Regions from separate parts of the Homo sapiens genome. Here region 2 is linked to region 1. Evidence: promoter capture Hi-C in human tissues and cell types (Jung and others, 2019). All regions are on one chromosome and are shown on one strand. Each heading gives the region's core, a stretch centred on a gene start or on the middle of the fragment in contact. The rest is flanking DNA. Distances are from core to core; before and after follow the strand shown.

The links. The method cuts DNA at HindIII sites, captures the fragments that hold promoters and counts their contacts. A contact is called where the count stands out against the background at its distance.
Region 2: a fragment that was not itself captured here is called in contact with the fragment with the promoter of RAB7A in region 1 in 1 of the 25 tissues and cell types used here (bladder).

Annotation. Positions count from the first base shown.
Region 1 is chr3:128,724,792-128,729,335 of GRCh38, forward strand. It overlaps RAB7A (RAB7A, member RAS oncogene family), which reads left to right and starts at 1,392. Exons shown (of 6, transcript NM_004637.6): 1 at 1,392-1,568. RefSeq lists enhancers at 1,116-1,245, 1,275-2,259 and a silencer at 1,526-1,815. The HindIII fragment of the contact is 11,719 bases long and covers 1-2,864 here.
Region 2 is chr3:129,013,693-129,018,594 of GRCh38, forward strand. The region is part of intron 2 of EFCC1 (EF-hand and coiled-coil domain containing 1); the gene reads left to right. It also overlaps a transcript of CFAP92 not described here. Among named protein-coding and RNA genes, the nearest start is that of EFCC1, 15 kb to the left of the region's middle. RefSeq lists enhancers at 2,234-2,741, 2,455-2,564, 2,585-2,634, 3,312-3,813 and a silencer at 3,415-3,574. The HindIII fragment of the contact is 6,161 bases long and covers 1-4,902 here.

The DNA of each region.
Region 1 (4,544 bases), core at 142-2,641:
AGAGAAGTACAACTGCAGAGGTCTGATGTAGATGTGTGCCTTCTCTTTTCTTTTTTGTTTATCTTTTGGAAGAGACAGTCTTGTTATGTTGCCCAAGCTGGTCTTGAACTCCTGGGCACATGCAAAGTGAAAGCAGAGAAAGAGTGGACTTACCCCAGAGGCGGATGGTTCTGCAGTGTGCAAGGCCATTTCAGAATACACATAGAGAAAACAGGAGAATAGGTGGTGAGGGTTTTGGGGAAAGAGCCAATTTTGGTTGAAAAAGTAGGGGAAACCCCAGACATTGTACCATCTCAGGGTTGAGACTGCTTGCCTAGCTTTTGAGATTTTTTTTTTCCCCAGACCCCTCAACTCCTGAGATCTTATCGGGAAGCTGCTGATCACCAGTTTTAGGTGTTTTTATCTATTGGGAGACTGCCTTTCTCTGGTCTGGCTGCAACCAATTATTATTTTAGAGAGACAGCTTAACCTGACAACCACGTCATGGTTGCCTCACATTGCTGGTCGGGGAGTGGCCCCTCTCCTGCCCTGCTCAGGTCTGACTACTTACTGTAACAATTGCAAGGTTTTTGGATGGAACAATTGAAAGAATGGAGCTTGCATGAACCAAAATAAGAAAAGACTATGAGAGGGCATTGTTGAAGATGGAGGCAAAAATTCTGAGTGGATCCTGATGTGTTCGGATGGGGCTGGTGCTTGGGAGGCTGCTCTGTGCTTACAAGAAGAGTTCTACCCGGTCCATCTTTATCACATCTTCTCTAATACTAAGTTCAGAGAGGCTTTAGCTCATTTTCCATTTTCTTGGGCTGTCTCCTCTGCCAGACAAAGTGCCTATTTCTCCTGTCTCTATCACCGAGCCACACAATTGCTGTAGTCATTTGCAGTCTACTAGAACGATAACACATATTGGCATCAGACAGATCTTGGTTCAAAACCTCGCTCCACCAGTTTCTGTGTTGAGCTAGACCAAGTGACATGATATACTGAGTCTCAGTTCCTTATTTGTAAAATGGTGATAATAATTTTTGGTTAAGTAATTAAAGTAAGGATAAATGATGCCTTTCGAAGAAGGACACAACTGGAATGGCCAGTTTACCCCTTGTCCCCTCTTCGGTGGCATTATTTATTCTGGAGTAAGGAGGGATGGCTGAGGGAATCTGTCTGTGGGTCCAACATGGCGCCGTCCTGCTCCTTGTATGAGCCTCAAAGATGGGGACAACCATTTGGGGGCAGACATGTTTGTAGCACGAGATCCAGGCTCAGTCCCGAGGCAGCCGGAACGTGACGCAAGGTTGAGGCGGGGCTCCTCCCCCGCACCCTGGCGTCGAGCGTCTCGTGACAGGTACTTCCGCTCGGGGCGGCGGCGGTGGCGGAAGTGGGAGCGGGCCTGGAGTCTTGGCCATAAAGCCTGAGGCGGCGGCAGCGGCGGAGTTGGCGGCTTGGAGAGCTCGGGAGAGTTCCCTGGAACCAGAACTTGGACCTTCTCGCTTCTGTCCTCCGTTTAGTCTCCTCCTCGGCGGGAGCCCTCGCGACGCGCCCGGCCCGGAGCCCCCAGCGCAGCGGCCGCGGTAAGCAGCGGGCCCAGCCCGGCCGGCGGCCTGGCCCCATCCCCCCCCTCAGCCCCTCGGTCGCCAGGGCCTCGCGTCCTCCCTGTCCTCCTGGGCAGGCTCCAGTCCCAGCCCTGGCCACGCGGGCACACCCGGCATCGCTCAGGCCCCCGGAGCAGGCCAAGACCCCACCCGGCTTGGAGAGGTCGGAGGTCGTCGGGCGTGACCTCTGGCCGGGTTGCCCGCCCCGGCCACCCGTCTCGGACGCTCTGTTTACTGTTGGCCTGGATCTCAGAGACCCGAGAGGGTTCCTTGACTTGGGCGGCCCTGCGCCGCGGCAGGACGCGCTGGCCAGTGGAGTTCCTTAGCGCGGCGAGCAGGAGGGTGTCAGAGCCCACGCCGCCCGCCGCCGTGCCCACCCGGCGGGCATGGGTCACAGGCGCTGGGGGCCGAGCCGCGTTCCCATCCGGTTCTTCAGTTGAACAGCCTGACCCTGTTAGTGGGAGTTCCCTGACGGCAACTGAGTCAAGGCAGTGAGTCAGGTCACGTGCGCTGGGCTCGCCTCGACACTTGTGTACATTGAGGCGCCTCTGGCGCTGGGAGACAGGGAGCTTTTTGTCCTAGGCATGTTACGGTAAATCCTGAGAGAAGTTTTTCAACTTAATCGAGGAAAGATGGTAGTTGGATGTAGAGTTGTGTTTCCATTCCGACCGTGTTTGGGGCCTCTTTCTGCATTCATTTTAGGCTTGATACCTAATGGGGTCATAAGGGGAATATTGAGAATATTGACAGCAAATATTTGAGCGTTTATTGTATGCTAGGCAGCGTGGCAAGACCTTTTAACAGATCATTATGTTTAGTTCTTTGAACAACCCTCTGAAGTACCACTGTTGTGCCCACTTAACACAGTGGGAAGTTGAACAGAGAGGCTAAGCCATTTGGCCAAGGTCACACAGCTAATAAGTTACGAAGCAGAGATGCAAGCCCAGGCAGTCAGACTCCAGAGCACTGTATTAAATTTCTAGGTTGTACTGCTTTCACGTACCCCTGAAGCTTGCTGGTTTATCTTTTGCTACCTGGTATCTGTACCTCAGTGCCTCCCACCACCTCCTTTCTTTCTATTGATGTCATTTGAAAGTCTTTCTGGTAGCATCAGTTCTCCCTTAAAGCCATAAGAAATGCCGTTTGCGACTTATCACACATATTGTGGTGTAGTGTCACCGAATTAGGAGCTCTTGAATACCGGCAGGGTACTTAACTGAGGTTTGAAAAATTTTGCAGGTAGGCCTGGCAAACCTGCCTAGTGAACCTTTCTTACAACCTTAGTTGATGGCTGTCCAGCCGGCTGGTTCTTCCCTATTCAAAATACTGCATCTTTGGTTTCCTAAAGAACGGACTCTTGTCTCTTTCTTGTGACTTAAGCAGCTGATGAAGCACATGATTTCTCATCCATGGATGAATAAAGTCTCCTCTTAGTGTGTTTCTCTCTTCAAACTTGGGAAGGTTTGTTCAGATTTGAGTTTAAGGACTGGAAGGTGAGTTAGGAGTACTTCTTCTGAAGAAGGGACCGGCTAAGTTAAAGCTTAGCGTTCACAATCCTGTTGTATTCATATTTGTCTTTTTTTTTTTTAACTTTGCTACCTAGCCTAAAATATTTAAGTGAGTAATAAGTACTGTGGCTTTATATAATGTTTGAGTTTAGAGTAATGATAGGCACCTTTTTATTCATTCATTAAGTATTTTGAGTATCCATTGAGTATCAGCAATGTATCAGGCATTGTGGGACATTGACTCAGGGAGATAGGCGTGGTTCCTGTCCTCAAGGAATTTTTAAAAGGTGAATGATCTTGGCCAGAAATTCTGTTGTGGAATAATTTGGCGGTAGAACTTGAGGCTTTTTGGAAAGAGTTATTTCTCATCTCTGCTGGTGAATCAGTAGTAACCCAAAGGATGGTGTTCTTCTGGCTAACTTTAAGGCTTTGTTAATTTTAACAACAGCATTTGTATGGTTTGCTCTTCAGAGAGTGTAGAAGATAATATTACAGTTTCTAATTAATCACATCTTTTAAAGAGTAACCTTCAACACTCAACTTGTTTCTCCTTTTGCTCTAGTGGCATTTATTTTATTTTATTTATATTTTGAGACGGAGTTTCCCTCTTGTTGCCCAGGCTAGAGTGCAATAGCGCGATGTCGGCTCACTGCAACCTCTGCCTCCCGGGTTCAAGCCATTCTCCTGCCTCAGCCTCCCGAGTGGCTGGAATTACAGGCATGCGCCACCATGCCCAGCTAATCTTGTATTTTTAGTAGAGACAGGTTTTCTCCATGTTGGTCAGGCTGGTCTCGAACTGCCTACCTCAGGTGATCCGCCTGTCTCGGCCTCCGAAAAGTGCTGGGATTACAGGCATGAGCCACTGCGCCCGGCCGACTCTGGTAGCATTTTTTTGTTCACTCAAGAGGTAGTCCATGTCACTACTGTAATTACCTTGCACTGCCATGTCTTTGAGCAAAGGTACATTTGGCATGCTGGATTTTTTTCTTCAGCTGGCAAGAAAGTTTAATGTAGCACTGATAGTGTACTGGCCATAGTTTCAGTACCATTCTACATAGAAAAGCTGTGTTACCCTATCTCCCACAACTTTCTAGATTCCCTTCTTTAAGGGAAGATTTGGATTTTACATTTGTGGTAGAACTGCATAAGTAAACAGAGGGTGGAATGTAGAAGATAGTCTAAAAATAGTTTTATTAGTATATCCTTCTAGGTAGTTAGCAACCACTTGGGGCAATTTTTTTTAAAATTTTTTTTTAGTGCCAACTGTGTCTAAGCTCACCAACCCTGTAATCAGAGAACAACTCTTTATAGTAAAGTGTGGCTTTGAATCAGTTTTCTGACCCCACTGCCAAGTGAAGCCAAAAAATTTTGGTTATTTGATTAGCTTTTAATATGTCTTCAGCTGGGCACGGTGGCTCACGCCTGTAATCCCAGCACTTTGGGAGGC
Region 2 (4,902 bases), core at 1,619-4,118, 290 kb after region 1:
TCATGTGAGTACTCTGGACCAATCACTGCCACTCTGATTAGCTAGACCTGGCTAAAACATTCCCGCCATTGGCCCTGCCCGACACATGGGCCAAGAGAAATGGAGGAGTCTGTTCTCCAAAGAACAGTAGTCAGGGGGCTGGATGGGGGGCTACTTGTGGGCAATGATGGCACCCAGTCCCCCTGAGCCGGGCAGAGGACCTGGCCAAGGAAGGGCCGTGGCTTCTTTGTGACTAGGCAGGGGCAGGAGCGACTGTCAGAATGTGCTCTGAGTTGGGGGTGGGGGCTTTTCCGGAGAGGACCGAGGTGACTGGAGAAGCCTGGAGCCACCCAAAGTCAGAGACCCAGGAAGGGGCAGACAGAGTCTTCAGGCTCTTCATTTTGCCTCTTCATGATTTTCTGTCAGAAATAACCATTGGCTTTTCTTCATTCAACCAAATTCTGTCAAGTGCCTAGAGAGGGCCCATGCTGTCCTGGGCATGAGGGAGGCAGCTGGGAAGAGGCAGAGACCCTGCCCTCGTGGACCAACTCTCAGTGCGTTACGCTGTTGACCACCAGTAACTAAGCGGGTGGACGAGGGGAGGGTCAGGGAGTGTGAGTCAGCTCGGGCTGCTGTGACAAGCCCCACAGACCAGGAGCTTCAACAACAGGCATTTGTCTCCCACAGCTGTGGAGGCTGACCAGAGTGCGGTGTCGCAGCGTTGGCTTCTCCTGCGGCCTCTCTCCTGGGCTGGCAGCCAGGGCCGCCTTCTCCCTGTATCCTCGCGTGGTCTTCCTTCTGTGTGTATTTCTGTCCTAATCCCCTCTTCTTAGAAGGACACCAGTCAGACTGGATTAGGGCCCACCCTAAAGACCTCATTTTAACTTGATTACCTCATTAAAGGTCCCATCGCCAAATAAGATCACATTATGAGGAGCTCTGGGGGTCTGGACATCAACATATGAATTGGGGAGACACAACCAGCCCATCACAGGAGACTTCTCTGAGATGTGACCCTGGAATTGAGGCCTGAGTGGCAAGGTGGGGCCATGACTTGTGTGATCCAGGGCGGAGGTGACTCCCATAGCAAAATCACAGGGCTGGGCACAAGCTTGGCTTGTCTGCACTGCCTGCACGGGGACGAGCAGGTTGGAGCCAGCCTGGATGCCGAGGGGCCAGTGAGGAGGGGCCAGTGAGGAGGAGCAGGTGAAGAGCCCTCCTCACCTGTACACACGGAGTCCTGCTAAGTCTCAGCTCCAAGTGGCTCAGACCCACCTGCTACTCTCCAGTCGCACCCACCACCCAGCCCAGCCCCAGCACCACTCCTGGACAGCTGTCCTAGCCTCCTGACTGGTGTCCCAGCTCCATCAGAACCACGGACCACACAGCATCAGGTTAATCTTTTCAACACCCAGATCCCACCTCGGGCTCGCCCACTCACAACTCTCCTGTGACCTCCTCTGGTGACCATCATGACTGTGAGTGACCAGGCCCTTTCCCATCCTCTCCTGCAGCCACACTGACCCTCCAGGGCTCCCCTTCTCAGGCCCTTTGGGCATACGGCTCCCTCCACCATCCCCAAGCCTACTCCTGACCAATCCACATTCACCCTTCAGGTCTTGCCAGACCCCAACTCTTTAGGGAGGCCCCACCTCCATCTACAGCCTCTTCCTAACGTCTTTCACGGCCCCTGGACTTTTCTGTCCTTCATGTATTTTTGTGATGACTTCATTGAGGTCTGCTCCTTCGGGGGGGGAGGTTGCGGGGTAAGCTCTGTGAGGTCAGGGGCCATGCCATTGCTAAGGACAGTGGCTGGCTCAATACTTCATCCTTCGGTGAATTAAAGAACCAAGTCAGCAGCTTGGGCTGGCAGGGCCTTAGAAGTCACCCAGCCCAGGCTGACACCCTGCACGGCGCCCCCGAGAGCTGAGTGTCCGTGTCTGCTCGCACACTCCTGTTGCACCCTTCCCACCGCCATCCCCTGCTCAGTAAAGTTGGGGGGGTTCCCGAATTCAGGTAGGGACCAGAGAGGAGTCACAGAGGACCCCTGAGGACTGTCCCCCCACCCCTTGTGATTTATTTTCCGCCCTTCCTCTGCTGCATCCCGCCCCCCTACCCCAAGCTGTTCTTCCTGCTGTTGTTCTCTTGTTTTCACATGTTGCTCTCTGTTTCCTGTAAGGCTGCTTCACTCAGGAAACGCCATGCAGCAAAGGAAGCCGCTGTGTGCGAACCTCCAGGACCTCCCAGAGTAGGTGCTGCAGCGTGGCCGTGGCCTGATGGCCCAAAGTAGCCTGGCTGGGTTCTGAGGGACCTGTCAGCTCTGCAGCTTCCTGAGACTTGCTGAGTCACTGAGCGGCTCAGAGCATAGGAAGCAGAGAGAAAAAGACAGCAGTGACATTTTTCATCTATTCCAGAATAAACTGAGCCCAGGCGGTGTAATGGGCTTTTGATGCGTCCCCCTGGCTTTGATGTGATGCCTTGACCGCTCCCTTGGTTACAGCAAGTTAACCGGTCAAACACTAAGCTACAGTTGCTGTACAGGTATTCTGCATATGGATTAAAGTCTGTCATCAGTTGACTTTAGGTAAGGGACATTATCCTGGCTGGTCTGGGTGGGCTTCAAGAGCCAAACAGGCTTCTGTGTGAAAGAGAAGTTCCACCTGTGGACAGAAGGGTGTGGAATCCATCTACAGCCAGGCCTACAAGCTGTAGCTCTTTCTGAAGGACTTTATGACAAGGAAGTGGGCTGTGTGATTGTGGGGGCTGGCTAAGCAAGCCTGAAGTCCACAAAAGGGAAGCTGGCAGGCAGGTGGAGCTCATGGGCACGCCCGTGTCTAGAGCCTCTGGGGAAGCCCATAAGCCGTGCCCGTGAGCTCCACCTGCCTGCCAGCTTCCCTTCTGTGGATTCCAGACTCATTTAGCCAGCCCCCGTGATCACACAGGCCACCTGCTTGTCATAAAGCCCTGGAGACAGAGCTACAGCTGCAGGCATGGCTGTAGATGGATTCCACACACTGGCCCCACTTCTCTGGTCAAACCCTGACTCGTACAGGGCCTGAGGCAGGAGGGGGCGGAACTGATTAAGGAACAAAAGCTAACATTTTTGAGCACTCACTGGGTGTTAGGCACTGCACTAAGGACTTTATCTGTACAACCTTATTGCACTCCCAAGCAGTGCTGTGAGTGGTTTATCAGTGATGATGCTTTATGCTGCAAGAACATAAAACCCAACTCAGAATGGCTTAAACCACAAGGACATTTATTATCTCATGTGAGAAGTCCAGGGGAGAGCAGTTCCTTGGCAGTTCAGTAAAGTTTTCAAGGACCTGATTCATCTTCCACTCTGTTTTCCTCAGCTTGTCATTTTGGCCTGTCAGCAAGGACCCCTCATGGTTGCAAGAGAGCTGCCATGGCCTCAGGCATCACTGCCATATCCACGGGTCCTCCTGGCAGACTTCCCCTCACCTCTCTTTGGCCAGAATTGCATCACATGCCTGTTTCTAAACCAATCTGAAGGAAGCTTCATGATTGAGGCTTCGTGAAGGCGGCTTCATGATTGGCTCAGGCCAGTCAAGTCTCTCTGGGAGCACAAGGCCACAGTCGGGGTTGAGCTGACAGCAGATGGGGTGTGGTTGTTTGGATGGCTGAATTTGGTTTCTATCACAACCATAGCCGATCACCACACTCTTAGTGACTTGAAACAACACCCACCTGTGACCTCATAATTCCGTAGGCCGGAAGTCCAGGCGGGCGTGGCGGGCTTCTCTGCACAAGCTCGCACAAGGCCGAAAGCAAGGCACCCTTGGCCGGGTCTGGACCCCCTGGGAAAGCCCGTTCCAGTGTTGGCAGAATCCAGCTCCTTTTGGCCGTGGGACCGAGGCCCTATTTCCTTGCCGGCTGTCAGCTGGGGTTGCTCTCTGCATTCCTTCACCCACATTGCTTTCATCTTCCAGCCAGCAACGACCTGCCCCATGTCCTTCTCACACTTCACATCTCTCTCACAGCCTCTTCTACACCAGCCCAGAAAGCTATCTGCATTTCAAGGGACTTGTGTGATTAGACAGGGATAATCCCGTCTTCTGGTCAGCTGTGCCACAGAACATCATGCCATCTCTGAGTGACAGGCTCACTTCACTCACAGGCTTTGAGAATTAGGGTGTGGAACTTGGGGGCCCATTCCTAGACATTCTGCCCACCCCCGTGAGGCAGACATTTCACTGGAAAGAAAGTTAACCTCAGAGAAGTGAAGTGAGTTCCTCAAGGCTGTACCAGCCAGGAAGTTATGGCTGCAAACAACAGAAATCAATGCTGCTCATTGAAGCAAGAAAATAACAGCCCTCCCTCCTGGCTACCATATAGTATGCAGTCCTGGCCATACAAGAGGGTCCCTGTGCCCCTCAGGGTGGTCTTTTTATCCCCAGCCAGATGCTTGGTTTCAATTATTCTATAACCTAATAGGATTAGTTATCTTAGGAAATCCAGAGGTGCTGGCTGGCCTTGGGAGTAAAGATGAGACCTCAGTTCTCCAGGCTCATTAAACATGTTTGCCTCCATAGGGAGACAAATTGTCTCCATAGGGAGCAGAAGTCATCAGTTAAATCCGGGGTTAGCAAACTACAGCCTGTGGGCCAGTCCAGCTCCACCCTTATTTTTATACAATCCACAAACTAAGAATAGTTTTTACATTTTTAAATGGCTAGGAAAAAACTAAAAAAGGGATATTTCATGACATATGAAAATTTCATAAAATTCAAATTTTAGTGTCGATGAATAAAGTTTTATTGGAACACAGCCATGTCCACTTGTTTACATATTTTCTGGGACTGCTCCTGTGCAGAGTGGAGTAGCTCTGACAACAACCTCATGGGCTTCAAAGCCTGAAGTATTTACTCTCTGGCCCTTTATGGCATAAGTATGCCAGCC